Regions from separate parts of the Homo sapiens genome. Here all the other regions are linked to region 5. Evidence: promoter capture Hi-C in human tissues and cell types (Jung and others, 2019). All regions are on one chromosome and are shown on one strand. Each heading gives the region's core, a stretch centred on a gene start or on the middle of the fragment in contact. The rest is flanking DNA. Distances are from core to core; before and after follow the strand shown.

Region 1 (2,744 bases), core at 110-2,609, 1.5 Mb after region 5:
TGATTTAATGATTCTGTGAAAGCTTTTCAGAGTTTGATGAACTACGCTTAGTCACACTGGAGAAAGAGTTTTGCTCAAGTGTCCTTTGATGGAGGAGGCATCACCTCTCTTTCCACATGACAATATTCATATAATTAATACATATTTATTTATATAAAAGTATCAGCTATCTTTGTTAAAAATACCTGAATGCAACTAGATACATTTCATCAAATTTTGTGATTTATGTTTGACAGGATCTGACTTAAAATATACATCATTTGAAGTATATCAACTTCTCTTTTGGTAGTCCTGGGGAGGACCTAAGGAGACAGACAACAATCATCCAGAGTAGCTGCTGATATTCATTACTCATAGAAAATCTTTGTACATGCAAATATCGACAAAGTAAGCAAAGATGTTACCAACAGCAATAATTTATTTATACATATTGATAATTTTATGTGTCAACTTGGCCAGATCTCCATTCTATTAGCCTGTCCTACAGATTTCATATTTGTCAGACCCCATGGGCTCTTCCTTAAAATCATTTAGATAAATATCTGTATGTAGATAGACATATAGGTATATTTATGCATCTATGTAGCAGTCAATATATGTATCTATACAATTATGTATGTATGTATGTATTTACCTACCTACCTATCTGTCCTGTTGGTTCTGTTTCTCTGGAGAACCCCAAGATCTATGAAGTTCATGGTCTTCCCCCCTGATCATTTGCCTGAACTACATGGGAAGGAAGATGAGTGTGTATTTGTGTTTGTGTGTGTGTGTGTGTGCAAGTATGTTTGTCTGTATGTACAATGTGTGCATTACACTAGTGAAAACAAAAAATATTAATATTATTTGATGCTTAATAAAGGAATAATTTTTTTGTTATTCTTTACTTCAAAGCTCTAGTTTCTATGTTAAAAATCTGTCACTGATTATTATTACTATTAGAAAAATTATATAGAAAATGATTATAATAAATTCATGGCTCAAGGCAGCTTAGCAAACACATCATCGACTCCTTCTCTATTAATTGATCCTTTATTCAGATTCTTTTGTATGATAATTTGGGGGTACATTTGTATCACAATATAAAGGAAGTTAAACAAAACAGACTAATGAAATAGAAATGCTACCGTATAAAGAGAAAAAATAATTAGAAAAGGTAAAAACACTAAATAACAGATTGTATTTGAAAGCATCTGTTAGTCAAAATTCGAGCAGTTGATACACGACAATATATGCTATGCCATATTAGATTCTAGACACACACACACAACATATAATTCACAATTTTTATTTTAACACCACAGCTATCAGTAAACTTTATTTATAAACCATCCTCATAATGATCTTAAGAGAATTTTGGAGAAAAATTAAATATCTTTTTATGTCTTGGGGAAATGTTAGGAAATTTAGGGGCCCTTTCATTGTTGCTGACATTTTGTTCCCCAACCTATGCTTACATGAGAAATTAACCTGAAAAATTAAACTTCCAACTAAATTAAGCTACTGAATCATATGTATTAAAAAAAAATTCTGTGGCTTAGTCTAACTATGCTATGAGGAATCTGCAATATATTACCCATCCTTGGTTCCAAGTTCATAGAGTTTGAGTGAACATCCTGTTCAATCTCACCATTACCTTATGCGTGTAAGTCATAGGACACTGCATTTCAAGCTTAAGGACTATTATCAAAAAATGCTTCATATGCTCTACTTTTTTTCTATATTATAAGTGTAGATGGGTTGGTAAAAATATTTCCTGAAATTTGATATATGCTTTTTGAGGACATGTCCTGTATTTCAGTCATCTAATATTTAATCATGAGCTCAGTAAAGTAAGAATAGGTCATGATATCCAAGCTTTATAACTTGGCATTGATATTAATTATTCATTTACAGAAAGAAAACTAATAGGTTTGTGTCTTACCCTGTTTTATGCTGCTATAACACAATACCTGAGACTAAGTACTTTATAAATAAATACGTTTTTATTTCTCACAGTCCTGGAGGCTGGTAGTCCAAGATTAATAGACCACCCTTTTCTCTGGTTGTCAGATGGCTCCTTGTTGATGTATCTTCCAGAGAGGATCAACACTGTGTCCTCACAAGGTGGAAGAGAAGAGAAAGAACCCACTCCAGCAAGCCCTTTTATTCCAGCATTAATCCAGTCATGAGGGCAGAGCCATCCTTATAATAGACTCCACCTCTGAACAATGTTGCATTGGTGATTAAGTTTCCAGCACATGAGATTGGGAAATATATTCAGACTATAGCAGTAGGTATACATCAATTGTCCTCTAAATGAGCGAAGACTGAAATTTGATTCTGATCACTTAGTTTTGTCTGCCTCAAGTATTTCACTCAGAATTGTATAGTCCAAATGACATTCCTCATTTCTCAGTAAATTGAACATTGTACAAAATAAAGTTATGAACTCTGGGAATTGAGGTATATAGAATGTATTTTAAATAGTATTTGTTATCACAGATAATGAATTTAAATTAGAATGCTTTAAACCACAAAAGCACTCTTTTCCATTTCCCTGCAAATATCTGTTGTTTATGGACTCTGACTGCTTTGTAATGTCTTTTAAGGCAGCATTAATATAAAAAATCATTAACCATATTATATGACATTTTGTTATCTGAATTTCTCCAAACATTAAAAAATAGATCCCATTCGGTTTTAAATAGTATATTATAGAAGTTATGGTATACTAATTATCCTTACTGCTATTGTCGTAAAGA
Region 2 (2,852 bases), core at 188-2,687, 1.7 Mb before region 5:
TCCCACCTATGAGTGAGAACATGCGGTGTTTGGTTTTTTGTCCTTGTGATGGTTTGCTGAGAATGATGGTTTCCAGCTTCATCCATGTCCCTACAAAGGACATGAACTCATCATTTTTTATGGCTGCATAGTATTCCATGGTGTATATGTGCCACATTTTCTTAATCCAGTCTATCATTGTTGGACATTTGGGTTGGTTCCAAGTCTTTGCTATTGTGAATAGTGCTGCCATAAACATACATATGCATGTGTCTTTATAGCTCTTTAACATAGAAGCTTAGAGGAAGGAGAAGTGCCTAAGAAAATTTAATTCTGAAGTGTTGGGATTCATTCCCCAATAAGGTCTAACCAGATTTGAAGGAGAGGGTGAACATTTATGGCTTTCTTTTCCATTACTTAAAGGATTATTACATAGAAGAATAAGTGTTCTGTGGGCTCTAGAGGCTAAAATGAGGTCAATTACTGCTTATTTGTTCCCTTGTTTAATAAATAATTACCGAGTGCCTTCTCTGTGCAATATGCTGTGGATTCAGGTCCGCACTCTGCTTTCTTTAGTGCCCCCTGGACTGGAAAGTTATGGAAAGGTAATTTTTGTTACAATATGAGGAAGAATCATGATGTTTGCAGCCAAATAGGGCAGTGAGCTCCCCGTCACTGACGCTGTTTTGGGAGAGAATGGATGAAAATTTGTTAAGAATATTATAGGAGGGAATGCTTGCCTCATGGAAGAGGAGGTGCTAGTTTATTAGTGAGTCACCTGATCTGATTCTGTGAAGAATACAAATGAATATAGGTGGTTTGATTTGATTGAGTTATAATTTAGAGAATGCTTTTCCAGTGAATACTTAGATAAGCATTTGTTGGCCTAAGGTGAGATAAAGATACCTTCCTTTTTATGAAGCAACCCTAAAAACTACCACAGTTGGCCTGTGAAAAAACATAAATGCAATCTCAGTTGTTGAAATGCCACCTGTTGTCCTACTTGGCCTATAGTTTATTCCCTTATGTAACCAGGTTAACATTACTTTGCTTGCTTTGACCATTTGTTTCTATTTATTATCTTTGCAACTTCTATGCAGCTCCTTGAACATAGGACACTATATTAGTGGTTCCATCTGACTGTGAATAATACAACCATTCCTTCTTTAGGATCTGGGCTTGACGTGACCCTCAGGAGTGGTCTTAGCAAAAGTTCGTTTTGTTTATCCACACTCTTCTGTTCTCTCCTCTCCCACTCCTTTTTCTAGTATGAGCTAGGGGAATGTTTCTCCATCAAGTTAGATAGAACTAGGAATGCGTCTGTCTCTCTCTCTGTGTGTGTGTGTGTGTGTGTGTATGTGTGTGTGTGTGTGTGTGTTTTGTACAAAATATATTTCTGTATTTCAGATATATCTGTATCCCAACTGCTTAAAACATCTAAATTCCCCTAAGAGTTTAAGGTTTTTTGAAAAAGAAAATTTTAGAAAAACTGTTAAGGAGTTTTTCAGTTCTCCATTCCTCCCTTGACATCAAGAGTGAGGGAGTAGACAGCCAATATCATATAAAATGGGCAAAAGCTGGAAGCATTCCCCTTGCAAACTGATACAAGACAAGGATGCCCTCTCTCACCACTCCTATTCAACATAGTATTGGAAATTCTGGCCAGGGCAATCAGGCAAGAGGAAGAAACGAAGGATATTCAAATGGGAAAAGAAGAAGTTAAATTGTCTTCATTTGCAGATGGCATGATCTTATATCTAGAAAACCCCATTGTCTCAGCCCCAAAGCTTTTTAAGCTGATAAGCAACTTCAGCAAAGTCTCAGGATACAAAATCAATGTGCAGATTTCACAAGCATTCCAATACACCAACAAGAGACAAGCAGAGAGCCAAATCATGAATGAACTCCCATTCACAATTGCTACAAAAAGAATAAAATACCTAGGAATACAGCCAACAAGGGAAGTAAAGGACCTCTTCAAGGAGAGCTACAAACCACTGCTCAAGGAAATCAGAGAGGACACAAACAAATGGAAAAACATTCCGTGCTCATAGACAGGAAGAATCAATATTGTGAAAATGGCCATACTGCCTAAAGTAATATACAGATTCAATGCTGTTCCCATCAAACTACCATTGACACTCTTCACGGAATTAGAAAAAAAACTATATTTCATATGCAATCAAAGAAGACCCTGTATAGTCAAGACAATCCCAAGTAAAAAGAACAAAGCTGTTATCAGACTTCAAACTATACTACAAGGCTACAATAACCAAAACAGCATGGTACTGGTACAATAACAGACACATAGACCAACAGAGATAACTCAGAAAGAAGACTACACATCTACAACCATCTGATCTTCAACAAACCTGACAAAAACAAGCAATGGGGACAGGATTCCCTTTTTAATAAATGGTGCTGGGAAAACTGGCTAGCTATACGTAAAAAATTGAAACTGAATCCCTTCCTTTCACCTTTTACAAAAATTAACATGATGGATTAAAGACTTAAATGTAAAGCCCAAAACTATAAAAACGCTAAAAGAAAATCTAGGCAATACCATTAAAGACATAGGCATGGACAAAGATTCCATGACAAAATGCCAAAAGCAATTGCAACAAAAGCAAAAATTGACAAATAGGATCTAATTAAAGAGCTTCTGCACAGCAAAAGAAATGGTCATCAGAGCAAAGAGGCAACCTACAGAGTGGAAGAAAATTTTTGCAAGCTATTCATCTGACAAAGGTCTAATATCCAGAATCTACAAGGAACTTAAACAAATTTCCAAGAAAAAACAACCCCATTAAAAAGTGGGCAATAGACATGAACAGACACTTCTCAAAAAAAGACATTCATGTAGCCAACAAACA
Region 3 (2,925 bases), core at 100-2,599, 1.6 Mb before region 5:
CATACTGGCCAAAGTACATAACTGAATGTTGCTGTGGTCTATAGGAGCAGTGGTGACCAAATGATATGTTAGAATAAAGCACAAGTGCTTCTTCCTGAGGCTCAAATGTCTAGGCAGCTGATCACTGGCTGATCTTAGCTAGGTGTTTGCTGTTCTTATTTCTCTTTCATTCACAAATTCCCCACCTGCCCTCTATTTTTTTCTGAAATCTGACCCTTAGGGTTGTGGTTTTTACAAGCATACTCCAATTGATATTCTTATAAGTACATAACTATAAGTATACTCATAATAGGCACACAAGAGAGAAGGAGAAGGCAATGGAAAGATGGATGCAGACATGACAGTGATATAGCCACAAGACAAGGAAGCCAAGGATTGCAGAAAGCCACCAGAAGTTGGAAAGAGGCAAAGAGGGATTCTCCCTTAGAGCTTCCAGAAGGAGTCTACTTTTACCTATATCTTGATTTTGGACTTTTGGCTGACAGAATTGTAAGAGAATAAAATTCTGTTGTTTTAAGACATCTAATCTGTGATAATTTGTTGTGGCAGCTGTAGGAAACTAGTATAGATTTTGGTAGGGGGAAGTGGAGTGCTGCTGTAACAAATGCCTAAAAACATGGAAGTGGTTTTAGAAATGGATAATAGGTAGAGGCTGGAAGAATTTTGAGGCCAAGATAGAAAAAGCCAAATTATGGTGAGTGCTCAGAAGGAAGTGAGGAACATGCTAGAGAAAGCTTCTCTCATCTTCGATAATACATATAGTGACATGAGCAAAAATGTTTCTGATAAGAGCTCAGAAGGAAACAAGGAGCATGTTATTATAAACTGGAGGAAAGGTAATCCTTGTTAAATTAGTAGAAAAAACTTTGGCCAAATTGTGTCCTATAGTTGTATGGAAAACAGAACTTGTAGGTGATAGCCTTTGATATTTAGCCAAGGAAATTTCCAAGCTAAGTATTAATGGTGTGGCTTTGTTTCTTCATTTTGATTACAATAAAATGAAAAAGATAAATTGAGGAAGGAACCATTGAGGCAAAAAAAGCAGCACTTGTGATTTGGGAAATTTGCAATATATACAGATTGCAAAAGATGCTACTATTAGGAAAGCATGCTCTGGAGAGAAGCCAAGGGTATGGCTGGACCACCTTTTGCTGAGATTAGATGTATGTCTTATGGAATCATACATACACTCAACCTTGTCAGAAGAAGCCAGGAATAGAGAGGAGGTTATCCAGGGAAATCTGTGGAGGACCTTCTTCCCTAATGACACAAGACCAGTTGACATACTTAGGAAATCCACAAGGTTTGTGAAGATTTTATGTCTGCAGACACACTACCAGGCTGGACTGAAAGAGACAGAGGATAAAATGAAAGAAGGCTATTGGACTTCTGGGAGTCTAAAGGCAGGAAATGGGCTGCAAGAACTACTTACCTAGAAACATGTGCTACCTTTCAAGAATAATGATTCCAATGCCAGAGCTATGATCCCAGAGACATATGATCCCAGAGCCACAGGCCCAGATGCCTACTAGGCCAGAGCAGCAGGCCCAATGAGTGGAGCCTAGAGTCACAGAGGATTATTCTTGGGCCTTGAAACCTAATATTTCTTTTGCTGCACGTTAGACTTTCTAGGGATGGGTGACTTCTTTATTCCAATTTCTCCTCTTTGAAATGGGAATATCTATAACTGTTACCCTATTCCATTCTCACCATTTTATCTTAAAAGCAGATAACTTGTTTTATAGTTTCACAGCTCCACAGGTGGAGAGGAATTTGGCTCCAGGATTATTCATACCTAGTTTTGTTACAGTAGGTAGCTAGTCAGACATTAGCAGGTCAGGGGAGGCTTCCTTTACCAACCCAGGAATGTTAGGCAACCATCAGGTGATGGTCAGATGGTTGTTAACTGTCTCTCTAAAATAATAATTGGTCATAGCCAGTACAAGGGAAAGGAAGTCTTCCAATAAATAGAAACACCTGAAACTGGTGATTAGCAGCTTCCCAATAAGGTCTCAGGAGTTGGGCCTGGGCTCAAACATGTGCACTAAATGGCAAAACAGTGGAGTTTAAGTGGTAGATGACCTTCTAGGAACATTTGGTGAGGGAAGAACACCACAAATGAGCATGTGTACAACTCCAGTAAACACACTGTACATATGACCCCTCCCAAGTGCTGGCAGGACACTGCAAATGTGGACAGCCCACCCCAAGGAAAGAGTCAGTAGAGAAGGGACACAACCCCCGGGAAGCATGCTGGCATATAAACTCCAACTCAAAGATCAAACTGTGCACTTAATCTCTCAAGTTGCCTGCTTGGCCATCTTCCAAGCATACTATTTATTTTTTGTCATTCCTGCTCTAAAGCTTTTTAATAAACTTTCACTCCTGCTCTAAAATATGCCTCGGTCTTTCACTCTGCCTTGGTCTTTCACTCTGCCTTATGCCCCTTGGTCAAATTGTTTCTTCTGAGGAGGCAAGGATTGAGGTTGCTGCAGACCCATATGGATTCACTGCTGCTAACAGTTTTACCCATACCTGATTTAGATGAAGAGATTTGGGACTTTTGAGCTCATGACATTCAGATAGGATTTTATACTTACAGTTGACGGCTGTGATAGGCTGATATTTCAGAGGATGTTGGGATGGCCTGAATGTGTTTTGCACATTGGAAAAATATAAATATTTGAGGGCAATAGGGTGGACTATAGTGGTTTGAATTCTGGCTCTCAAAAACATATGTACACATGTAAATCTCTGAAACCAATGAAAACTACCTTATTTGGAAAAAAGGTTTTTGCAGATATAATTAAATAACCTTGAGACATTATCCTGGATTACCCAGGTGGGCCTTAAATTCAATGCCAAGGGTCTTTACAAGAGAGAGAAGAGAGAAAGATACACATGCAGGAGAAGGCAGTGTGGAGA
Region 4 (2,857 bases), core at 26-2,525, 1.8 Mb before region 5:
CTCTGGAACTCTTTGCCATCTTTAATAATAAGAAGTAGAGCTTCAAAGCTTACAACTTGTGAGAATCCAGGTGACTGTAATGGGTTCTTCTGTGCTTACTTTACCTGAACTGAGTGAATAACTATGGACATCTCAGAAGGTCAAGTGGCTAAAACTTGTCTTTAAATAACTAATTCTGTCAGATCTTCTCATTCTGAATCAAGGATGAGGCACCAAAAATGTTTAAGATCTAGGAGTGCTAAGAAAGATATAAAAGAGGATTTTAAATTTTGTAATTGCATTCCAACAAATAGATGATCTGTCTGCCTTTAAGCACCTGGATGTTGAGAGCTTAATGTAATTGACCTCATACAGGTTGTGAAGAAAATTAGAAATGCAGTCTCATGCTGAGAGCTATCAACAACTTGGATCTAGCCTGAGGCTCAGCTTTTACTACCTAAAAACATACATGTATTTATTTCCCAAAGTGCATTACTTAGAACACTAGTCCTATAAGACACTCCGTGGAAAAAAATGTTCCATAGTTAAATTTAATTTTGGGAAATAGCATATATCTATCTCTTAGATAATTATAATACACTTTAACGTATAAAATAAGGTTTCTGATAATTCAGATAGTAAATGAAAACCAAAAACAACAAAAAATTATTTAACTTTGTTTTCTATTTATCCTAATGATGTCTCTCTCTCTCTCAACACAGACACATACTCATCACTCCTTTTAGGACCTTATAGAACTAGTAATTATGGCAGTATCTTCTTGGCATAAAAATAGGCCAATGGAATAGAATAGAGAGTCCAGTAACAGACCCTTATTGTAATTTGACCGAGAGGACACTGAACTGCAGTGGATAATGTATGCTCTTTTTGATAAAAGGTACTGGGATCGATTGGATACCATTGGAGAAAAAAAAAACAATCCTTACCATGTATCTAAATATAACAGGTAAAACAACATGGCTTTAGAAGAAAATATATTAGAATATCTTTATGACATGGAGAACAAACTTATATTAACACATAAAGTAAAAAGAATGGTAAATTGGCCCACATTTAAATTAAGAATTTCTCTTCATCAAAAGACACCATTAAGAAAATAAAGAGCCAAGCCACAGATTAGGAAAAAAATATTTGTACTATATATGAAAAAAGACTTATTCTTAAAATATACAACAAAACTGCTACAAGTAAGTATTAAAGAGACGCAATCCAATAGAAAAAATAGACAAAAGATTTGAACAGTCATGTCACAAAAGAGGATATTCAAATAGCCAAAAGAGATATAAAAAAGTTGGCCAAGTACAGTGGCTCATGCCTGTCATCTCAGCAGTTTGGGAGGCCAAGGTGGGAGGATCACTTGAGGCCAGGAGTTTGAGACCAGCCTGGCTGACATGGTGAAACCCCGTCTCTACTAAAACACAAAAATTAGCTGGGCGTGGTAGAGCGTGCCTGTAATCCCAGCTACTCGGGAGACTGAGGCAGGAGAATCACTCGAACCCTGGAGGCCGAGGTTGTGTTGAGGCAAGATTGCACCACTGCACTCTGGCCTGGGTAATAGAGTGAGTGAGACTCCGTCTCAAAAAAAAAAAAAAGATACAAAAAGTACTCAAACTCATTAGTTATAAGACAAATGAAAATTAAAACTACAGTGTGATTATAAACTAATGACCTAAAATAAAAGAAAATTCCAAGTGTTGTAAAGGATGTGTACCAATGGCAACTCTTATCAACTGTTGGTGACAGTGTAAATGAGTATAACCACTTGGGAAAGCTGGTTGGCAATAATGACTAAAGCTGCATATATGCTTCTCTTATGACAACATGGATCATAGGATGCTTAGATTACATACACAGCAAAAATGCATATATGTGTTCACCAAAAGACATGTACTAGAATGTTCATGGCAGCATTATTTTTGAGGAATAATGGAGTCTCCCTGAAATGAAGACAACCCAAATGTTTATCAGCAGTAGAATAGATACAGTGTGATGAATTCACACAATGGAATAACATACATCAGTGAGAATGAACTTCAACTATGCATAACATGGATAAATCTCACTAATATAATTTTGAGTTATAACAGATGAAAAAGAGTGCATGGATGATTTGTTTACATAAAGTTTATAAACAGGCAAAACTAATCTCTGGTATTAGATATCAATGCAGTGGTTACTCTGGAAGGGGACTCATAGGAGATCCTGGGATGCTAGTAATCTTTCTTCATCTGTGTGTTGGTTTCAATTTGTGAAATTTATTGAGTAATGTACTTATGATTTGTGCATTTTCCTAAACATTTGATATAAACTTATGTGCCACATATGACATTTTGATCAATGACAGATTGCATATACGGTAGTCACATAAGATTATGATACTATATTTTTACAATACCTTTTTATGTTTAAATACGCAAATACTTACCATTGCGTGGCAGTTGCCTGTGTTATTCAGTACAGTAACGTGCTGTATAGCCTTGTAGCCTAGAAACAATAGTCTATACCATATATCCTAGGGGTGCAGTAGGTGTATACCATCTAGGGGTATACATTCTGTGATACTTGCACAACAACAACATTGCCTAAGGACTCATTTCTCAGAAGGTATCCTCATCATTTAAGGGATGCATGACCATACTAAAATAAAAAGTATGCTAAAAAGAGCAGATACATCAAAATACAACTTTCCTTAAAGAAAGATTCTTAGATCTGGGCTTCCAAGGAACACACGGGAAAATGCTGACCTCCTCACACATTGATATGTATTGTTCAAGACATATATATTTTTATTGAAGTAAGATCAGATGAAATGATATTCTAGCAAAAACATTAATGGATACTTTTTCAATTAATGTCC
Region 5 (3,087 bases), core at 63-2,562:
CTAAAGCACTTCACTCCTCGTGTTCTTCCCCGACAGAGATAGCTGTGTGGTTCTTCCTTACGCGTGGGTGCAGGTGTGCGCGCTTGGGGTGAGCCCATGGTTGTGCTCGAGTATACGGGCGCCTGTGCACCTCCAGGGCAATGGTAAAGCCTGGCAGAGCTCTTTTTGGAACAAAATGAAGGAGCTCCATATCCACGGAGGCCACCCGTATGGGCCTTTGCCAAGTAGGGCAGAAGAAGCCCTTGTTAGCCAGCTTCCCTTTGCAACTTCCTACTCTTCCTTTGGGTACAGACTGGTGTCTGGGCTAGCTAGGATCACAGCTGAGAGCGAAGGTGCTCTCAGTGTCCGAAGACCACGTGCTGGTGAACCCACAATGAGAAGCGAAAGGGTTTCAGGACTCTAGCAGAAAGGAAGAGCAAGATTTCACTCAGGGTTTCTTAGAAGAAAGAGTTAACTTTGCTCACTGGCTTTTCCAGGATGGAGGGAGTGGGGATAGGGTCGGGGAGAGAAGCATTGGGAGTCTTGTCGGAGTCTCAAGCAAAACCAGGCGAGGGCTCCGGGCAGATCCATTCCCGCAGGGCCCTGTCTAACCTCCTTTCCAGTCGCACCTCTTTCCTGCTTTAGACCCTGCGTCTGTGCCGGTGACCTTAGAGACTAGGTCTGGCTTATGAAGACTGTTGGGCTCCCTTTCTGCCCTTCACATAGTAAAATGTGACCAACTGCAGTATTCGTAATGTCTGATGCTGAGCTGAGTTGATTCCCAAATATAAATGTTCTTTTCAGAATCCGCTCCCATCTGATTAGTAAGCAAATCACCACCCACAACTAAGGGGACAGCGGAAGCCAGCCTCAGATGACTGAAACCCCCAAGTCAGTAGCTCTCCTCAAAATTTCCGGCGGGTTATTATAGATAATGACTTTTCCCACCGCCCTAAGCAGCCGAAGCTTGACTCAGTGATGATTCTCTCTATCCCGTAACTGCGAGGAAGTGGGCGATCAGCAAATTGCCCTTTTGCAGGAGGCTGGGGACGCCCCTGGAAGTTCGCTTTCATTCTCCAGGTTTTCTGCCTTTTCCCTTCCCCCTTCCTGCAACGCCCCCGCGCCTCCTCAGCCTGGGGATTTCCTGGCGCTTCGCCGGCCCTCTCCGCAACCCCCTGATAAATCGGTTCAGAACCAGTCTGGCTGGGAGGCCCGAGGGCTGACAGCAGCGGAGCGGCCCCGGCCGGGGTCTCACGGACTCTCGGGGTCTGGCCGACACGGCCGCTCCCGTCACTGCAGCGCGGGCTGAGCTCACGGCCGCGCGCCCGCCGCCGCCGCCGCCGCCGCCTTCATGCTGCAGCGCAGGGCTCAGTTCCACGCGGCCAGGAGGCCGCCGTTGCCCACACGCGACGCTTTGGGAAGCCCAGCTCCCGGGTCCGCCCCGGCCGCGGCCGCAGCCCCGGACCTCGGCTGCTTGCCTCGCGCCTGAACTGCGGACTCGCCCCAGCGCGGTGGCCAGCGGGCGGGGCGCTGTGTTCCGCGGCGCGCAGGGAGGCGGTGAGCGTGTGCAGAGCTGCCCGAACGGAGGACTATGTATGTGTGTGCGCGTGTTTGCGTGTGTTTGAGCGTGTTTTTCCTTCTTCCCTTGAGGATGTGAATTGTTTAGCAGCTGGCTGCTCCCTTAGGATCCTTGACTTTGGGGAGCTCTGGCTGTGAACACAGCCCACCCATATAATCCATTTTGCACGGTCCGTTATATCAGAAAAAAAAAGCGCAACTGGACGGGGGTGGGGCAGACCAACGAAACCTAGACAGACACACACACACTCAGAGGAGAGAGGAAGAATTGAAAGACTTGAGAAGACTTTGATAACCTCCCTGCTGGCCCTTCTGTGTTCCGGAAAGATCCTGGATGTTGGCTACCTTTTCAAGTCATCTTGGCATGTCTCTAGTGTTTTGTAAGCCGCTTTCCAGCTAGCTGCGTGTGTGTGTGCGCGCGCGTGTGTACGCGCGCGCCTATCTGATGCATTTGACTGTCTTTTATCCAACTGCCCAGAAGCAAATGTGTTAACTCGGCGATGCCCCTTCATGCCCGGGTTCTTGCAGAGCTCTGAGGACGCCCAGACCCATTTTCCTGGCTGGATTTGGAGCGGCTGCTGGGCTGTGGACCCAGGTGTGTGGATCGCTTTACCCAGAAGCTTGGAAAGCGCCAATATTAACCTGCTTCCAGGTACATCACAAGGTCAAGAGAGTGTCTTGCAGCCCTCTTGTTTCCGTGTATCTACACCTTCTTCTCTTGGCCAGAAGGATATTTACGTTTTGGTTCACAGCATTTGAAGCCAAAAGTTCAGCCCTTCGAACTGGTTTGCTATACAAAACAAAACAAAACAAATAAGGTAATGAGGATTGCTTATTAAACTGCTTAACAAAATCCCCGACTCTTCCTCAGCCCTTTCTCGGCTCCCTCCTCCCCACCAAAATGTCACCAGCTCTTGAATTACGTGGATTCGGGTTGGAGGAGAACTTGAAGGAAACGTGATTAAAGGGCTATGCGAGAACGCTCTCTTTGCTGCCCGCGGTCCGGTGGGCTTCGAAGCCAATCGTGAGAAGGACCGGTTCCCTCCGTGCTGCTTCCTCCCCGTGCAGTGCTGGGTGTGCGTGTGCGAGTGTGAGTGCAAGTGCGCGCGCGCCCGGGTGCGAGTGTGTGTGAGTGTGAGCGTGTGTCTGTGTGTGCGTGCGCGGCCGCCCTGCCTCTGCCCGCTCCCCGGGCGCGGAGCCGCGGGTTTCATGGGGCGATTGCAGCGATTCCCCCACCCAGAGCGACCTGCGGGCAGCGGCGGCAGTGGCAGGAGCCGCCTTTCCGATTCCCTACGATGCGGGTGCTGAGCTATGGCAAAGGGCAGCGAAGTGACGAGCGAGACCCGCGTACGACTGTGAAAGCCACCTGGAGCCACCTTGCCGGGATTGTACCTGCAGGCAGAAAGTCTTCCTACGACCGTCTTTTCCCTTAGAGGCACCAGGTAACAAACCAACGATTACTCGCCTCACCCAATTTCCTTTTGATCTTGTTTCTAGTGTCTTATCTGCATTGCAGGCTACTTTACTTAT

What was found. The method cuts DNA at HindIII sites, captures the fragments that hold promoters and counts their contacts. A contact is called where the count stands out against the background at its distance.
Region 1: a fragment that was not itself captured here is called in contact with the fragment with the promoter of LRFN5 in region 5 in 1 of the 25 tissues and cell types used here (dorsolateral prefrontal cortex).
Region 2: a contact is called between a fragment that was not itself captured here and the fragment with the promoter of LRFN5 in region 5, in 1 of the 25 tissues and cell types used here (dorsolateral prefrontal cortex).
Region 3: a contact is called between a fragment that was not itself captured here and the fragment with the promoter of LRFN5 in region 5, in 1 of the 25 tissues and cell types used here (dorsolateral prefrontal cortex).
Region 4: a contact is called between a fragment that was not itself captured here and the fragment with the promoter of LRFN5 in region 5, in 1 of the 25 tissues and cell types used here (dorsolateral prefrontal cortex).

What each region holds. Positions count from the first base shown.
Region 1 is chr14:43,149,238-43,151,981 of GRCh38, forward strand. No RefSeq gene overlaps it. Among named protein-coding and RNA genes, the nearest start is that of LINC02307, 1.2 Mb to the right of the region's middle. The HindIII fragment of the contact is 3,324 bases long and covers 1-2,744 here.
Region 2 is chr14:39,950,575-39,953,426 of GRCh38, forward strand. No RefSeq gene overlaps it. Among named protein-coding and RNA genes, the nearest start is that of FBXO33, 520 kb to the left of the region's middle. The HindIII fragment of the contact is 4,701 bases long and covers 1-2,852 here.
Region 3 is chr14:39,968,366-39,971,290 of GRCh38, forward strand. No RefSeq gene overlaps it. Among named protein-coding and RNA genes, the nearest start is that of FBXO33, 540 kb to the left of the region's middle. The HindIII fragment of the contact is 5,096 bases long and covers 1-2,925 here.
Region 4 is chr14:39,756,252-39,759,108 of GRCh38, forward strand. The region is part of intron 5 of LOC105370461 (a long non-coding RNA gene); the gene reads left to right. Among named protein-coding and RNA genes, the nearest start is that of FBXO33, 330 kb to the left of the region's middle. The HindIII fragment of the contact is 4,081 bases long and covers 1-2,857 here.
Region 5 is chr14:41,605,564-41,608,650 of GRCh38, forward strand. LRFN5 (leucine rich repeat and fibronectin type III domain containing 5) reads left to right here and starts at 1,313. Exons shown (of 6, transcript NM_152447.5): 1 at 1,313-2,999. The HindIII fragment of the contact is 3,229 bases long and covers 1-2,694 here.